2 separate regions of the Homo sapiens genome follow, and region 1 is linked to region 2. Evidence: promoter capture Hi-C in 16 types of primary human blood cells and fetal thymus (Javierre and others, 2016). All regions are on one chromosome and are shown on one strand. Each heading gives the region's core, a stretch centred on a gene start or on the middle of the fragment in contact. The rest is flanking DNA. Distances are from core to core; before and after follow the strand shown. Region 1 overlaps GALNT17 (polypeptide N-acetylgalactosaminyltransferase 17). Region 2 holds the start of GALNT17 (polypeptide N-acetylgalactosaminyltransferase 17).

Region 1 (6,205 bases), core at 2,404-4,903, 500 kb before region 2:
GTAACAAAATTTCCCATGTACCCCATAAATACATACAAATATAATGTGTAAACAAAAATGAAATTCTAAGGCCCCTCAACCATCCGAATGTACTTCCTCCTTAGCCACGGCTATTTTAAAATTTAACCCGAGAGACTGTTTCAGGCCATGATGGGAAGTGGGGGTCAGACAGGCCTCATGATATCTCTCCAGCATTAACATCAATACAGACTTTAAGTCTAGTAAGAAACATTTTACAACCTCTTTTCTCTAAAGCCTAGTACCTAAAAGCTTCCTCTGCAAATAAGAACTTCGGTCTCCATAATCGTTTATCTGAACCTGGGCATTCCTCTTTTTTTTTTTTTTTTTGAGACGGAGTCTCACTCTGTCACCCAGGCTGGAGTGCAGTAGCGAGATCTCGGCTCACTGCAACCTCTGCCTCCCGGGTTCAAGCAATTCTCCTGCCTCAGCCTCCTGAGTAGCTGGGATTACAGGCGCCTGCCACCATGCCCAGCTAATTTATGTACTTTTAGTAGAGACGGGGTTTCACTGTGTTGGCCAGGCTGGTCTTGAACTCCTGACCTCATGATCCACCCGCCTCAGCCTCCCAAAGTGCTGGGATTACAAGCGTGAGTCACCATGCCCGGCTGGCATTCCTTTTTATGGATCCCAGGTCTTCAGATAAACTCAGCCAATTGTCAATCAGCAAAATTTTTAATCGACCTATAAGCTGGAAACCCCCTGCTTCGAGTTGTCCAGCCTTTCTGGACCAAACCAATGTATTTCTTTTTTTCTTTTTCTTTTTTCTTTTTTTTTTTTTTTGAGATGGAGTCTCGCTCCGTCGCCCAGGCTGGAGTGCAGTAGTACCATCTCGGCTCACTGCAACCTCCGCCTCCCAGGTTCAAGCAATTCTCCTGGCTCAGCCTCCTGTGCAGCTGGGACTACAGGTACTGGCCACCACACATGGCTAATTTCTGTATTTTTAATAGAGACGGAGTTTTACCATGTTGGTCAGGCTGGTCTCGAGGTCCTGACCTCAGGTGATCTGCCCGCCTCAGCCTCCCGAAGTTCTGGGATTACAGGCGTGAGCCACCGTGCCTGGCTTATATTTCTTAAATGTATTTGATTGATGTCTCATGTCTCCCTAAAATGCATAAAACCAAGCTGCGCCCCAACCACCTTGGGCACAAGTTCCCAGGACTTCCTGAGGGCTGTGTCCCAGGCGATGGTCACTCACATTCGGCTCAGAATAAATCTCTTCAAATATTTTACAGAGTTTGACTCTTTTTGTCAACAAACGGACCCCCCAAAAGTGCAAATCTGACCATGGCACTCCCCATCTTCAGTGGCTCCACACGGCCCTTAGGAGGTCTAAATTCTACCAATTGCACATGGACAGAAAGATGGAAGTAATAGACACTGGAGACTCCAAAAAGGGGGAGGGAAGGAGGGGGCTGAGGGTTGCAAGATTACCTGTCGAATACAATGTACAATATTTGAGAGATGTCACTGCCCGAGGGGTTCTTCCTGCCCACTGCATAAAGAAAGACCACAGTATTGTAGTAGAGAGAGTTTAATAGACAGGAGGCCAGTCACACCATGTGTGTGGGCATGGGCTGGGCCCTTGGGCCCTCCACCCAAGCTCCCCAACCCCCTTTGTCTCTGCCTTGCCCGGGGCTGGCTCCCTTCTCAATGCTTGATGTCGCTGAGCACATGACTTCAAACTGAAAGCAAAAAAATGTGCTTTTTCCTTTGGACCCTACCTGCAAATGCCAATTACGCCTTGGATTTGCCAGCAGCTGGTAGGAATGAGTGAGAGGCTTGTCTCTGAGATGACTCATTTCCTCTCTGGTATTTGCAAGGAAGCAAGGAATGAGCAACCAGAAACAGAGCTTCAAGAACAAATTCCACCCTACAAATGCTGCGAGGATCCTCTCGGGGCCCTCAGAGGGCAATGAGGCATGTTATATGAAGATTAGCAGAGAGAACAGAAATCCCCTACATAAATAAATAAATAATGAGCCGGTAAATACTGACAGCCGCATTCATTTCCTCGGCCACATTTCCCTTTAACACTCCCTGCCTGGTAAAAGAAGTTTGCTTCTGAATAAGGACTTCGGGAGAATCCTCCCCAAGCCATCAGCCGACAGGAGAGCTATCCCGGCCCCCAGGACAAACTGCGTAGCCTCAGTCTGCCCCTTTGCAGGGGGTCAGGTTAGGCAGGCCATGATTTGAAGCCCCATCCTATGATTTTATGATGCAAACTCCCCACATTGCACTAGAGTGTTCCATATTGGGAAACCTTCCCAACCCACAGCCGGGCTGTGCCTGGGACATGGCGAGTGAGAATGGCAGGGACTATGTTTTCTTCACTGACACCTTCCCAGTGCCATTCTCTGTGAACCACATTTAAGCACCCCCTAGAACTAAATAATCAATAATCAACCTTCTTTTTTTTTTTTTTTTTTTTTTGAGACAGAGTCTCACTCTGTCGCCCAGGCTGGAGTGCAGTGGTGCGATGTCGGCTCACTGCAACCTCCCACTCCCGGGTTCAAGCGATTCTCATGCCTCAGCTTCCCAAGTAGCTGGGATTACAGGCGTGTGCCACCATGCCCAGCTAGTTTTTGTATTTTTAGTAGAGACAGGGTTTTGCTATGTTGGCCATGCTGATCTCGACCTCCTGGCCTCAAGTGATTCACCCACCTCAGCCTCCCAAATTGCTGGGATTACAGGCATGAACCACCATGCCTGGCCAAGATAAATAGTATTTTGATGCAATGTTTAATAAATCAAAAATCATGCAGAAAATCCACGGTGAGCAAAATGTCAGAAGTTGAAATAAAGACAGGTTCCCCGGGCTCACAATCCTCCCCCTGGTCTGGGCCCTGAGAGAAGGAGTTTCCACCAGCCCTTCTCACTTGCTACATTCTGGTTGTATTTTCCATCCATGTCTAGCGTGGTCCCAGATTCTCTCCTCATCCTTGTCCCCAACACACACAGACCCACAGATGCATTAGATGTATTCAGCTCGGCTGAAAGTGCTTGTGCTTTTGAGCTTGGTCGTAGATATCACTCTACTCACCCAAGTCAGAACAGGGCCCCTCATGGACACTCTCACCCCATCAGAGCACCTACTGCCTTCTCCTTTCTTTGAGGGCTAGGGCTGGATCTTGTGTAATATTCGAACCCCAACACCGGGCAATGGGAATCCCATCCATATCACAGGAATGAATGCATGCATGGACAACCTGAAATAGGGCAGGCAGATCCCAGTGCTCCCGGCACCCGGCAGGTGGTCCCCCAGGGCCTTGCTTCCAGGGACAAAAGCTCACAGTGGAAAAGCAGCCTGCTCCACAGTGGAAAAGCTTGGCCGGACACAAGGCTGTTCCTTATCTTGAGCCTTAATGGTCCTTGTAAGAGCATCTTTTCAGGTATCTGAAGAAAGGGCTCTCTCAGCCCCAGTCTTTTTTCTTTTTCTTTTTTTTTTTAGACTAAACATCTTCAGGTCCTTTAAAGCCTTCTTTAAAGGGCTGGATGCAGTGGCTCACACCTGTCATCCCAGCATTTTGGGTGAACAAGGCCAGAGAATTGCTTGAGGCCAGGAGTTTGAGACCAGCCTGGGCAACAGAGCAAGACCCCTGTCTCTACACACACAAAAAAAGAATAACTCAGCTGGGCGAGTTAACCCATTCAAATGCTAATCTCTTCTGAAAACACCAGCACAGACACGTGCAGAATTAATATTTAATCCGGGCACCCTGCGACCAGTGAAATTTACCTATGAAATTAACCATCCCAATATTGCACCTCAGCTCAAAACCCTCCCATGGCTCCCATTCTACTCAGAGTACACACCAAGATCTACATGACGGCAAATGGTTCATCCTCCTCCTTCCTTCCCTTATCTCCTCTCACTCTCACCTTTGCTGATGCCACTCCGGCCACAGTGGCCTCCTTGCTCTTCCTCAACTGGACCAAGCTTGTTCTTGTTGAAGGGCTGTTGAATTTCCCATCCTTCCCACATGGAATATTCTTCCTCCAGAAGCCCACAAGACTTGTTCCCTTACTTCATTCAGATTTACTACTGAGTCTGGGCATGGTGGCTCACACCTAATCCCAGTGCTTTGGGAGGCCAATAAGGGATGATAGCTGAAGCCCAGGAATTCCAGACCAGCCTGGGCAACATAGTGAGACCTCTCTACAAAATATTAAAAATTAGCTGGGTGTGGTCATGCATGTCCATCAGTACCAGCTACTCAGGAGGTAGAAATGGGAGGATCGCTTGAGCCCAGGAGGTTGAGGCTACAGTGAGCTATGATCATACCACTGCACTCCAGCCTGGGCAACAGGGCAATTGTCTCAAGAAAAAAAAAAAAAGTAAAAATAAAAATAAAAGATTTACTACTTAAACACTTCCTTACACCACAATGTTCCCTGGCTACAGAATGCAAAACAATCTCCCCTCTCCCTTCCAATCTCTCTCTCCTTTCTCCAAATTATGTATTTATTTGCTCATTGTCCACTGCAACAGGCAGGAATTGTATCTGTTCTGTTCCTTCCTGCATTCCCAGGGCCAGAATAGGGCCTGGTACCCAGTAAGTGCTCATTGAACAACTGAATGAATAAACGAATTGAAGTACCTGTACCCTAATTTATCAGCATCAACACATACTATTCTTGGGTAGTATTCTAACGACGTGGCCTATCTCAAATTTGCTTATTTTCTTTAAATCTGAAATGGCACTTCTCCCTTGGGTCCTCAATATCAAGCTCCATGATTTCCGGATTGCACTGGAAGATCCAAACACTTTGTCCTGGCTGTTTTCAGCTCTTGCTGAATTCAGTCTCTGGCCTGCCTTTCAGTATGAGGTGCCCTGGTATTTTTAGAAGAGCACTTCTCATGTGTTTGTGAGGGCCAATTACACCAGCTGCCTCTCTGGGTATGTTTCCATTTGCTGGCTGATTTTTACATTCCATGCAAACATTGATGAGATTGTCCACTAAATGGGTATCAATCCTAACAAGCATCAATGAAATTCCGGTTCTGAGTGTCCTTGGCCACCATAGCTACCCGGTGAAACTCATTAGGGTCCATGAAAAGAGATAGAAATGCAGAGTCAGCCAGACAAAAAGAGGTCAAGGAAAGGAGGAGGGGATCAGTGCACTGGGGGCCTTATGGGTGTGTTAGGGCAATGCTGAGACCTTCATCCAGACTGGATGTTCTGAGTTTATCCTTGGCTTTTTTGGCACGGGAGTTTGCCAAGCGAAGGCTGTTCCTTATCTTGAGCCTTAATGGTCCTTGTAAGAGCATCTTTTCAGTTACCTGAAGAAAGGGCTGTTTAGGTGGTATTGTGAACCTGGTGACTTTGGCCTGGTGTAGTGGCTCACACCTATAATCCCAGCCCTTTGGGAGGCCAAGGTGGGAGGACTGCTTGAGTTCAGGAGTTGGCTTTAGTCTCAGCATTGCCCCTGGATGTCTGGATCCCAGGCTAATGATCTCTGGGTGGTGTCAGTCCTGTGTCTATCTGGCAGGCCTGATAGTACTGGAGTCAGCACAAAGTTACGATATAATAAACATGGACTAGAAGGAATGAGTACATGAGGAGGGTTTATCAGCTCAACTGTTTGGGAGGTATTGTGAACCTGGTGACTTTGGCCTGGTATAGTGGCTCACACTAATAATCCCAGCCCTTTGGGAGGCCAAGATGGGAGGACTGCTTGAGTTCAGGAGTTAGAGACCAGCCTGGGAAATACAGCAAGACTGCCTCTCTATAAAAAAGTTTAAAAATATAATTCAGGCATGGTGGCTTGTGCCTGCTGTCCCAGCTACTTGGGAAGCTGAGGCAGGGGGATTGCTTGAGGCCCGGAGTTCAAGACTAGCATGGGCAGCATAGCAAGACCTCCCAACTCCCAATTCTCCAAAAATAAATAAATAATTAGTTGGGACAAGTGCCCACAGTCCCCGCTACTCAAGAGGCTGAGGTGGGAAGATTGTTTGAGCCCAGGAATTTGAGGGTACAGTGAGCCATGATCACACTTGATTCTGGGTGACAAAGCGAGACCCTGTCTCAAAATACAACTGAAAATAAAAATAAAAACGAACCTAGAGATTTTAGATAAGCTTTAAGGGATCCCAAAACCAGCTCCCAAGATTGTTAGATGATGTTCTGAGTTTGTAATGTCTTCAGGACAGGGTGCATAGGTAGATGTCATCAGATTCTCAATG
Region 2 (7,001 bases), core at 4,146-6,645:
GCTCCCAACAACTTGATCAACCAATAAACCTTAAGTGCCCCATTAAGTGCAAGGGGCTGTGGTGTGCTGAGGGATGGGGGTGGTATTAAAAGTCCAAAATGGCCGGGCGCGGTGGCTCACGCCTGTAATCCCAGCACCTTGGGAGGCCGAGGCGGGTGGATCACGAGGTCAGGAGATCGAGACCATCCTGGCGAACACGGTGAAACCCCGTCTCTACTAAAAATACAAAAAATTAGCCGGGCGTGGTGGCGGACGCCTGTAGTCCCAGCTACTCGGGAGGCTGAGGCAGGAGAATGGCGTGAACCCGGGAGGCGGAGCTTGCAGTGAGCCGAGATCGCGCCACTGCGCTCCAGCCTGGGTGACAGAGCAAGACTCTGTCTCAAAAAAAAAAAAAAAAAAGTCAAAAATATGATTCCAGCCCTTAAAAGGCCTATCAAGGCGCTGTGGCTCACACCTCTAATCCCAGCACTTTGGGAGGCCAAGGCCTGAGGTGGGGTGTGGGGTGAAAAGGGGGTGGGGGTGGGGATCACTTGAAACCAGCCCTGGCAACATGGCAGAACCCCATCTCTACAAAAAATACAAAAACTAGCTGGGCATGGTAGCATGTACTTGTAGTCCCTGCTACTAGGGAGGCTGAGGTGGGAGGATCACTTGAGCCGGGGAAGTAGAGGTTGCAATGAGCTATAATTGCATCACTGCACTCCAGCCTGAGTGACAGAGTGAGACTCTGACTCAAAAAAAAAAGAAGCCTACAGGCAGGGCACAGTGGCTTACACCTGTAATCCCAGCACTTTGGGAGGCCGAAACAGGAGGATCACTTGAGGTCAGGAACTCAACACCAGCCTGACCAACATGGCGAAAACCCGTCTCTACTAAAAACACAAAAATTAGCCGGGCATGGTGGCGGGTGCCTGTAGTCCCAGCTACTCGGGAGCTGAGGCAGGAAAGTCACTTGAACCCAGGAAGCGGAGACTGCAGCGAGCGGAGATCGCACCACTGCACTCCAGCCTGGCGACACAGCGAGACTCCATCTCAAAAAAAAAGAAGAGGAAGCCAGGAGGAGGTAGAGCCCTCCATAAATCCCACCTGCTTGGACTTCACAGGAGTCCACGGGAAAGATTTAAGAAACTTGAGCAACCTTTAAAATGCCTGGCTCCCACTCTGTACCAAGTGGCTTTGGCCCTCTTACATGCACAGTGCACTGGCTCTAGCAGCCTCTCCATTAATTCCAAGGGAATAAAGAACATTAAGGTCAAGGTTTCCTTCTCCACCCTCGGGAGCAATGAATGAAGACCGGCTGCAGAGCAAGAGAGCACGTGTCTCCCCAGGCACTAGGAGCCCTTTGCCTTCTCGGAGCAGCCTCCCACTGCAGCAGGCGGAGGGCATCAACAGATGGGACACGCATTACCCAAAACAAGCACCGGCAGAGGATGAAGGTGCTTGAGGGGCCAGGTGGAGAGAGAGGAAGAGCCCCCTATATTTCACAATTTTTCCCTGCTCTTTTTCTGCAGGCTTCATGTCACTGCAAATGACACTAGGCAGTCAGGATGGTAACATCTGCCTAGTCGCAGCTTGCATTCTTAGCTTGCCCAGGAAAAGCTCTCAACTTGGCCTTGCTGCCAACTTGCAAGTCAGGAAAACTCAGCCTTCCCACCCCACAGCACCTGACTCCACCAGTCCGGGAACTGTTTACAGGGCAGAAGGCCACAGAGAAGGAAGCCAGACGCCAGTTGATCTGAAGCAAGCTCTCAGCTTAAGTCCCCAAAATGAGCTGGCTTTGGAGGTTGGATGGGTTTTCTACCTTTACTCTGCTTGATGTAGGCAGCAGACTGTTGGGCAGTGGGTCGAGGGCCCTGTCCCAAGTTTGTTAGAGAGGCAAATTCTCAGGCTTCACCTGAGACCTGGGCGGGAGGCCCAGAAATCTGTCTTAAAGGGCTCTTCAGTGATTCTGATGCACATGCTGAAGATCAAGACACTGGTGCAGGAGCTAAGAACCTCCATTCTGGAGCCTGACATTCCAGGTTCGATTCCCAGCTCTGACACTCACTAGCTGGGTGACTGTGAGCAAGTTGTTCAGGCGGGTGTCAGAGCACCCATCTCGCAAGTCATTGTAAAGATTCAGTGGGTTCATGTATGTCTGTGGCAAGTAGAAAGTAGCCTCCTAACCTCCCTTCACCTAGTTTTCTCATTTCTCAACTGGGGATGGGTGGAGCCTCTCTGGACAGATGTGAACATACAGTGAGATAATGCACTTGTAATGTCTCTGCACACATCTGGCACACAGCAAGAATTCCATCAGTTATTATTATAGAATTTTATTATTCCTATGAGGGAAGTTAGGGTACAGCTATATAATATTTAATGCTCCTAATTGAAACTAATACTGGGGCCAGGCATGGTGGCTCACGCCTGTCATCCCAACACTTTGGGAGGCCCAGGCAGGAGGATTGCTTGAAGCCAGGAATTCGAGACCAGCCTGGACAACCTAGCAAGACCCTGTGTCTACAAAAAATTAAAAAATTAGAAGGGCATGGTGATGCACACTTGTAGACCCAGCTACTTGGGAGGCTAAGGCCAGAGAATGACTTGAGCCCAGGAGTTTGAAGCTTCAGTGAGCTATGATTGCACCACTGCACTCCAGCCAGGGGGACAGAGCGAGAAGACCCTGTCTCAAAAAAAAAAAAAAAAAAAAAAAAAAAAAAACCATAAAACAAAGAAACTGATACTAAACTAACCTGTGTCCCTGAGAAAAGCCTGATGAGGGAAACCAGGTTAACCTTTGAAGTTCCTATGGGTATGTCTACAGCAGGAATCTATCCCAAATTATAAGGCCACCCCGTAAGTTTCTGATTCCTCCAGAAATGAACTATGGGTTTTTGTCGCATTCTGTGCCATATTTCTGACACCTGAGAGAAGAGCTTCTGCATAACTTCCGTGGGCTACCCTGACAGTCAGGCCATATACCCTGCAAGTTCAAGGCATCCCCTGGATATCTGTCAAATGGCTTCGAGAAGACCGCAGCGTCCTTTCACCTGCTCAGAGATCTGACCACCCCTCTCCCTCCATCCCATCCCTCCCCCAGTACCCAGCAGGGACCTTTGGTGAGCCTGAAAAGAACCATTTGCCATCCTCCTTCTCCCTGCCCCTTGCCACCACAGTGAAGACAGTTGAGATCCTCCAATGTGAGAAGGTATATGTCTGTATTTGCAATTCCACATATTTCTGTTTTCAACAAACCTAATACTCCTTTCACTTAGGGGAAAACCATGGATAGAAGTTTGAGCCTAAGAGGTCAAGCGCACAGGCTCTGTGGTCAACCAGACACAGGGTTCTGACTCCAGACTCTATTATTATTCCGATTACAGAGGTTTGGGGCGCAGTTATATCTTATTTAACACAGGGCAACTTAGTTAACCTCCCCTCGCTTAGTCTTCTCATTTCCCCTCTGTGGATGGGTGGAGCCTCGCTGGACAGATGTGAACATACAGTGAGATAATGTACTTGTAATGTCTTTGCACGCATCTGGCACAGAGCAAGAATTCCATCAGTTATTATTATCACGATCTTCGTGATTATCTGCAGTTCGTTTGAGAACATGAGTTACAAGCTCAGAAAGGGAGGAGGTAGTCTGTACCTAAGTACGTATCTGCCTTGGATAACCCCACGCATCCTGGAAACCTGCCTGTACTCAGGTAGGTAACACTCACTCTGACGTTGGGGACAGCTAGTGTCCAATGACCTGGCCCAGGTGTGACAAGAGCACATAAAAAGTCTCCCTCTTCTCCTGAAGTACTGAGCACAACATTTTAGATGGGACAGATTCAGACAACTGTCACTAATGGGATGCCACATCTCTCTGTGCTACATTCTGGAAACTTCGCAGGCCCACCCTGAGCTTTAACAATCGCCCCTCCGCAGCCCCCAAGGAGAAACACAGGCGGCAGGAAGGGAGGAGTCCTCATTCTTAGCTGAGCAGCTCGCCTCATAGACAGATGACATATTCCTCCCATATACTACCTAAGCGCATTAGCTCCGCGACCTGGGGCCTTGACTTTGTCTGCAGACATCCAAGCCCTCCAATCTCCCAGGTTCCCTACTGGTACCCCACCAAACGCTGGGCTCTAAGACTATTTCCTCCTACACGTCTGCCCGCGCGCCTCCAGTCCCATGTGGCCCCTCCACTAGTTTCTGCGCTCGGGCTGGAGTCGCCAGGGAATGATTTCCAGTCCGCACGCGGGGACCGGGAGCCAACTGTACTGACATGTTTCCAGGATAAAACCAAATTTGCAGGTGGGGCACAGAAAAGAATCAGGCAAGTTGTTCTTTCCAGCAGCCCCGGCCATCTGCCCGAAACGGGGCAGGAAGGGTAAGAAGGAGCGCGCGGGAGCCAGGGTGTGCCGGCTCCCAGGCACAGGGCGCAGCGCGCAAGGACCCTGGGGCTCACCCTGTGCCCGGCCCGCCCGCGTCGAGCCCCGGAGGCGCCGGCGTGCGTCCTTACCATTCAGCTGCCGGTACACGATGTCCTCCAGCAGCGACAGGCGCTTCAGGACCGCATCCTGGATGGGGCTGGCGCTGTGCGCGCTGAGGTTGGCCACCTCGGCGCGCGGCCGGATCTCGTGGAAGGCGTCTCCGCTGCGCACCGCGATGGGCCGGCACTTGGCCAGGAAGAGCACGAAGCCGGCTACCGCGATCAAGTTCAACACCAACAGCACTTTGACTCTTCTCAGTGAAGCCATCAAACAGCCCGGCCGGCCCTCGCCCCGGACCTGCGCCCCCTCGGGCTCCGGCGAGGCGCGGGGCAGCCAGGGGCCGTGCAAGCCTCACACACCAGACGGCCGGCAGGGATCCAAGCCCCTGCTCGTCCCACCTCAAGGATGCTCGGGCGGCGGAGACGGCTGGGAGGTCGGATTGGTGGTGGGGAGAACGGAATCGCTCACATGGAAGTCCTCGCTCTGCAGAAGTGCTCCCCGAGACGCCTGCTCAGTCCACGGCGCACGGCCCCGTCCAGGCGTCTCCGCGAAAGGCCAGGGATTTGAGGGTTTCTCTTCTGCACCAGCAAGTGGTTCGCCTCTGGACCTCTAGCCGCCGGCGCCGCGGACTCCGAGGCCGGCAGGCGGGGCTGCCCGGGAGGCACAGAGGGAGCGGCGCACAGGTGCCGGACTCAGGGATCGCCGCCCGCCCACGGCGGAGCGCGCCGCGCCTGGGGCCGCACAGCCTCCCACCTTGGCCCGCAGGCGGCCGTCGCGGCGCGCCACCCGCGCTCTTCAGCGGAAGACCCGCTCCCCCGGGCAGGCGCCTTTGTTCCGCTCACCGACCCGCTCCATCGCGCCGGGCAGAGGGGAAGCCCGCTCGGGGAGCCCGCATCCTCCAGGCTCCGCAGTCACGCTCAAGTCTCAATTACTCTCAAAGTGGGGGCAGCACTAGGGGGCGGGCGCCGGGCCGAGCGCTACGTCCTCTCCGCCCCCCGCGCGGAGTCCACCCCACCCCGCCGGCAAACTCACCAGCGCTCACAGCGCCGCCGGCTCCCGGACACGTTCCAAGCCCCCAAACCGCGCCGAGAGCCTTCGGGGCCTTCAGGGCACACCGGCCTGTCTCGGAGCTGGCGCGTCGCGAGGCTGGCCGGAAGGAGTCGGACCTCAAAAGTCACAGCAGTTCTCTACCCCCTCCCAAAACGTCGCGGGCAGCGCGGCGGGGAGGTACGCGTGCCGAATCACCCTCCGCTCGCCAGATCCGGCCGCGCGGCTCGTCCCGCGCCCCCGGGAGCCAAAACGCCGAGTCTCCCAATTGGCGGACGCGGTGACACCGCCGCTGCGGCACCGAGAGCCACACAGCCCCGGAGCTGAGGAGCCCGGAGGGGACGCGCAGGTGGCGGCGGAGGGCGGGGCGCGGCCCGAGGGGAGCGGCGGCGGCGCCAGCTCCTCCTCCGCCGCTCTTCGCCACCCTGTCCCCGAGAGGCTGTCGGCGGCCGCCGCCGCCGCCCGCAGGCTGCCGAGCGCACAGCTCCCCGGTTCGCCGACTCGTGCGCGCGCGCACCCGGGCAGGGCGGGGGCTTCTGGAGAGTGGGGACCGCGCGGGATGGAGGCAGTCAAGGCATGCTGGCTGCGGCCGGCGCTGGAGGGACCCTTTAGTTCTCAGTACTCCCTGAGCGGGCGGGTTCGTTCCATCCCGGTTGGCGATGAAGACATCCTTTTCTGTGTGCTCGCGGCTCCGCGCTGCGTGGCCAGGAATGGCTAGAGGGAAAATCTGGCCTGGAGGCTCGGATTCTGAGACCTTCGGAGCCAGGCCGGGCGTGAGCGGGCTTGGGGGGGTTCTCTGCGTGCAAGAATTCTAACCTCCCCAGTCACTGCTTCTAGGCCCACCCGCTGCTCTGTTCAAATTTTATTATAAGAAGCATATTCATTTGGCTCCTGGTTTTCCACTACCTCTTCCTCTTCCCAAAACCCAGGAACTCGAAATACTGGAATTCAACGCCCCCCCACCCCGGTTGATCCATTTAATTCCTTGGGTCTAAAATAGAAATCAGGCCGCCAACTAATAAAAATCGGGCAGCAAAGCTAAATGGAGCTGATCGTTTTCCCCTCATCATTTTGATCTCATTAAAGTTTTTGTTTTTGTTTTTGCGGTTGTTTTGGTTTTTTCTGGGGCTTGGTTTCTTGTTTTGTTTTTGCCTGTGTATTATTTTAAGTTTTGATTTTTAACATAGAAATGTATATGCAAAAAAATAGTCTTTTTATTTCATTCCCTTGGAATTCTCTGCCTGGGTGCAATCGGGTCCTCAGGGCGCATGCTTTGTAAAATCTACCTGAAAGTGGACACAAAACAGTTAAAAAGGCCCAAGGGATGATTTTTAGCCACACATGTTAGGCAAGAGAGAGGCTGTGTGGGAAGAAACTTGGGTTACTGAGCATCTCATGGAGTATCCAGTTGAGTTGGGTGTTATTATAACCACACTACAGATGGAGCTAGCACAATCAATGGAAGCTTCTGCAAAAATAATTTTT

What was found. Contacts are between HindIII fragments. The CHiCAGO score rates a contact against its expected background, and 5 or more counts as called.
Region 1: a contact is called between a fragment that was not itself captured here and the fragment with the promoter of GALNT17 in region 2, in 1 of 17 cell types (fetal thymus). The highest score is 5.1, in fetal thymus.

Annotation. Positions count from the first base shown.
Region 1 is chr7:71,629,350-71,635,554 of GRCh38, reverse strand. All of the region lies in intron 6 of GALNT17 (polypeptide N-acetylgalactosaminyltransferase 17), which reads right to left. Among named protein-coding and RNA genes, the nearest start is that of MIR3914-1, 320 kb to the right of the region's middle. The HindIII fragment of the contact is 614 bases long and covers 3,347-3,960 here.
Region 2 is chr7:71,130,538-71,137,538 of GRCh38, reverse strand. It overlaps GALNT17 (polypeptide N-acetylgalactosaminyltransferase 17), which reads right to left and starts at 5,395. Exons shown (of 11, transcript NM_022479.3): 1 at 4,499-5,395. The coding sequence starts at 4,736. The HindIII fragment of the contact is 4,375 bases long and covers 2,609-6,983 here.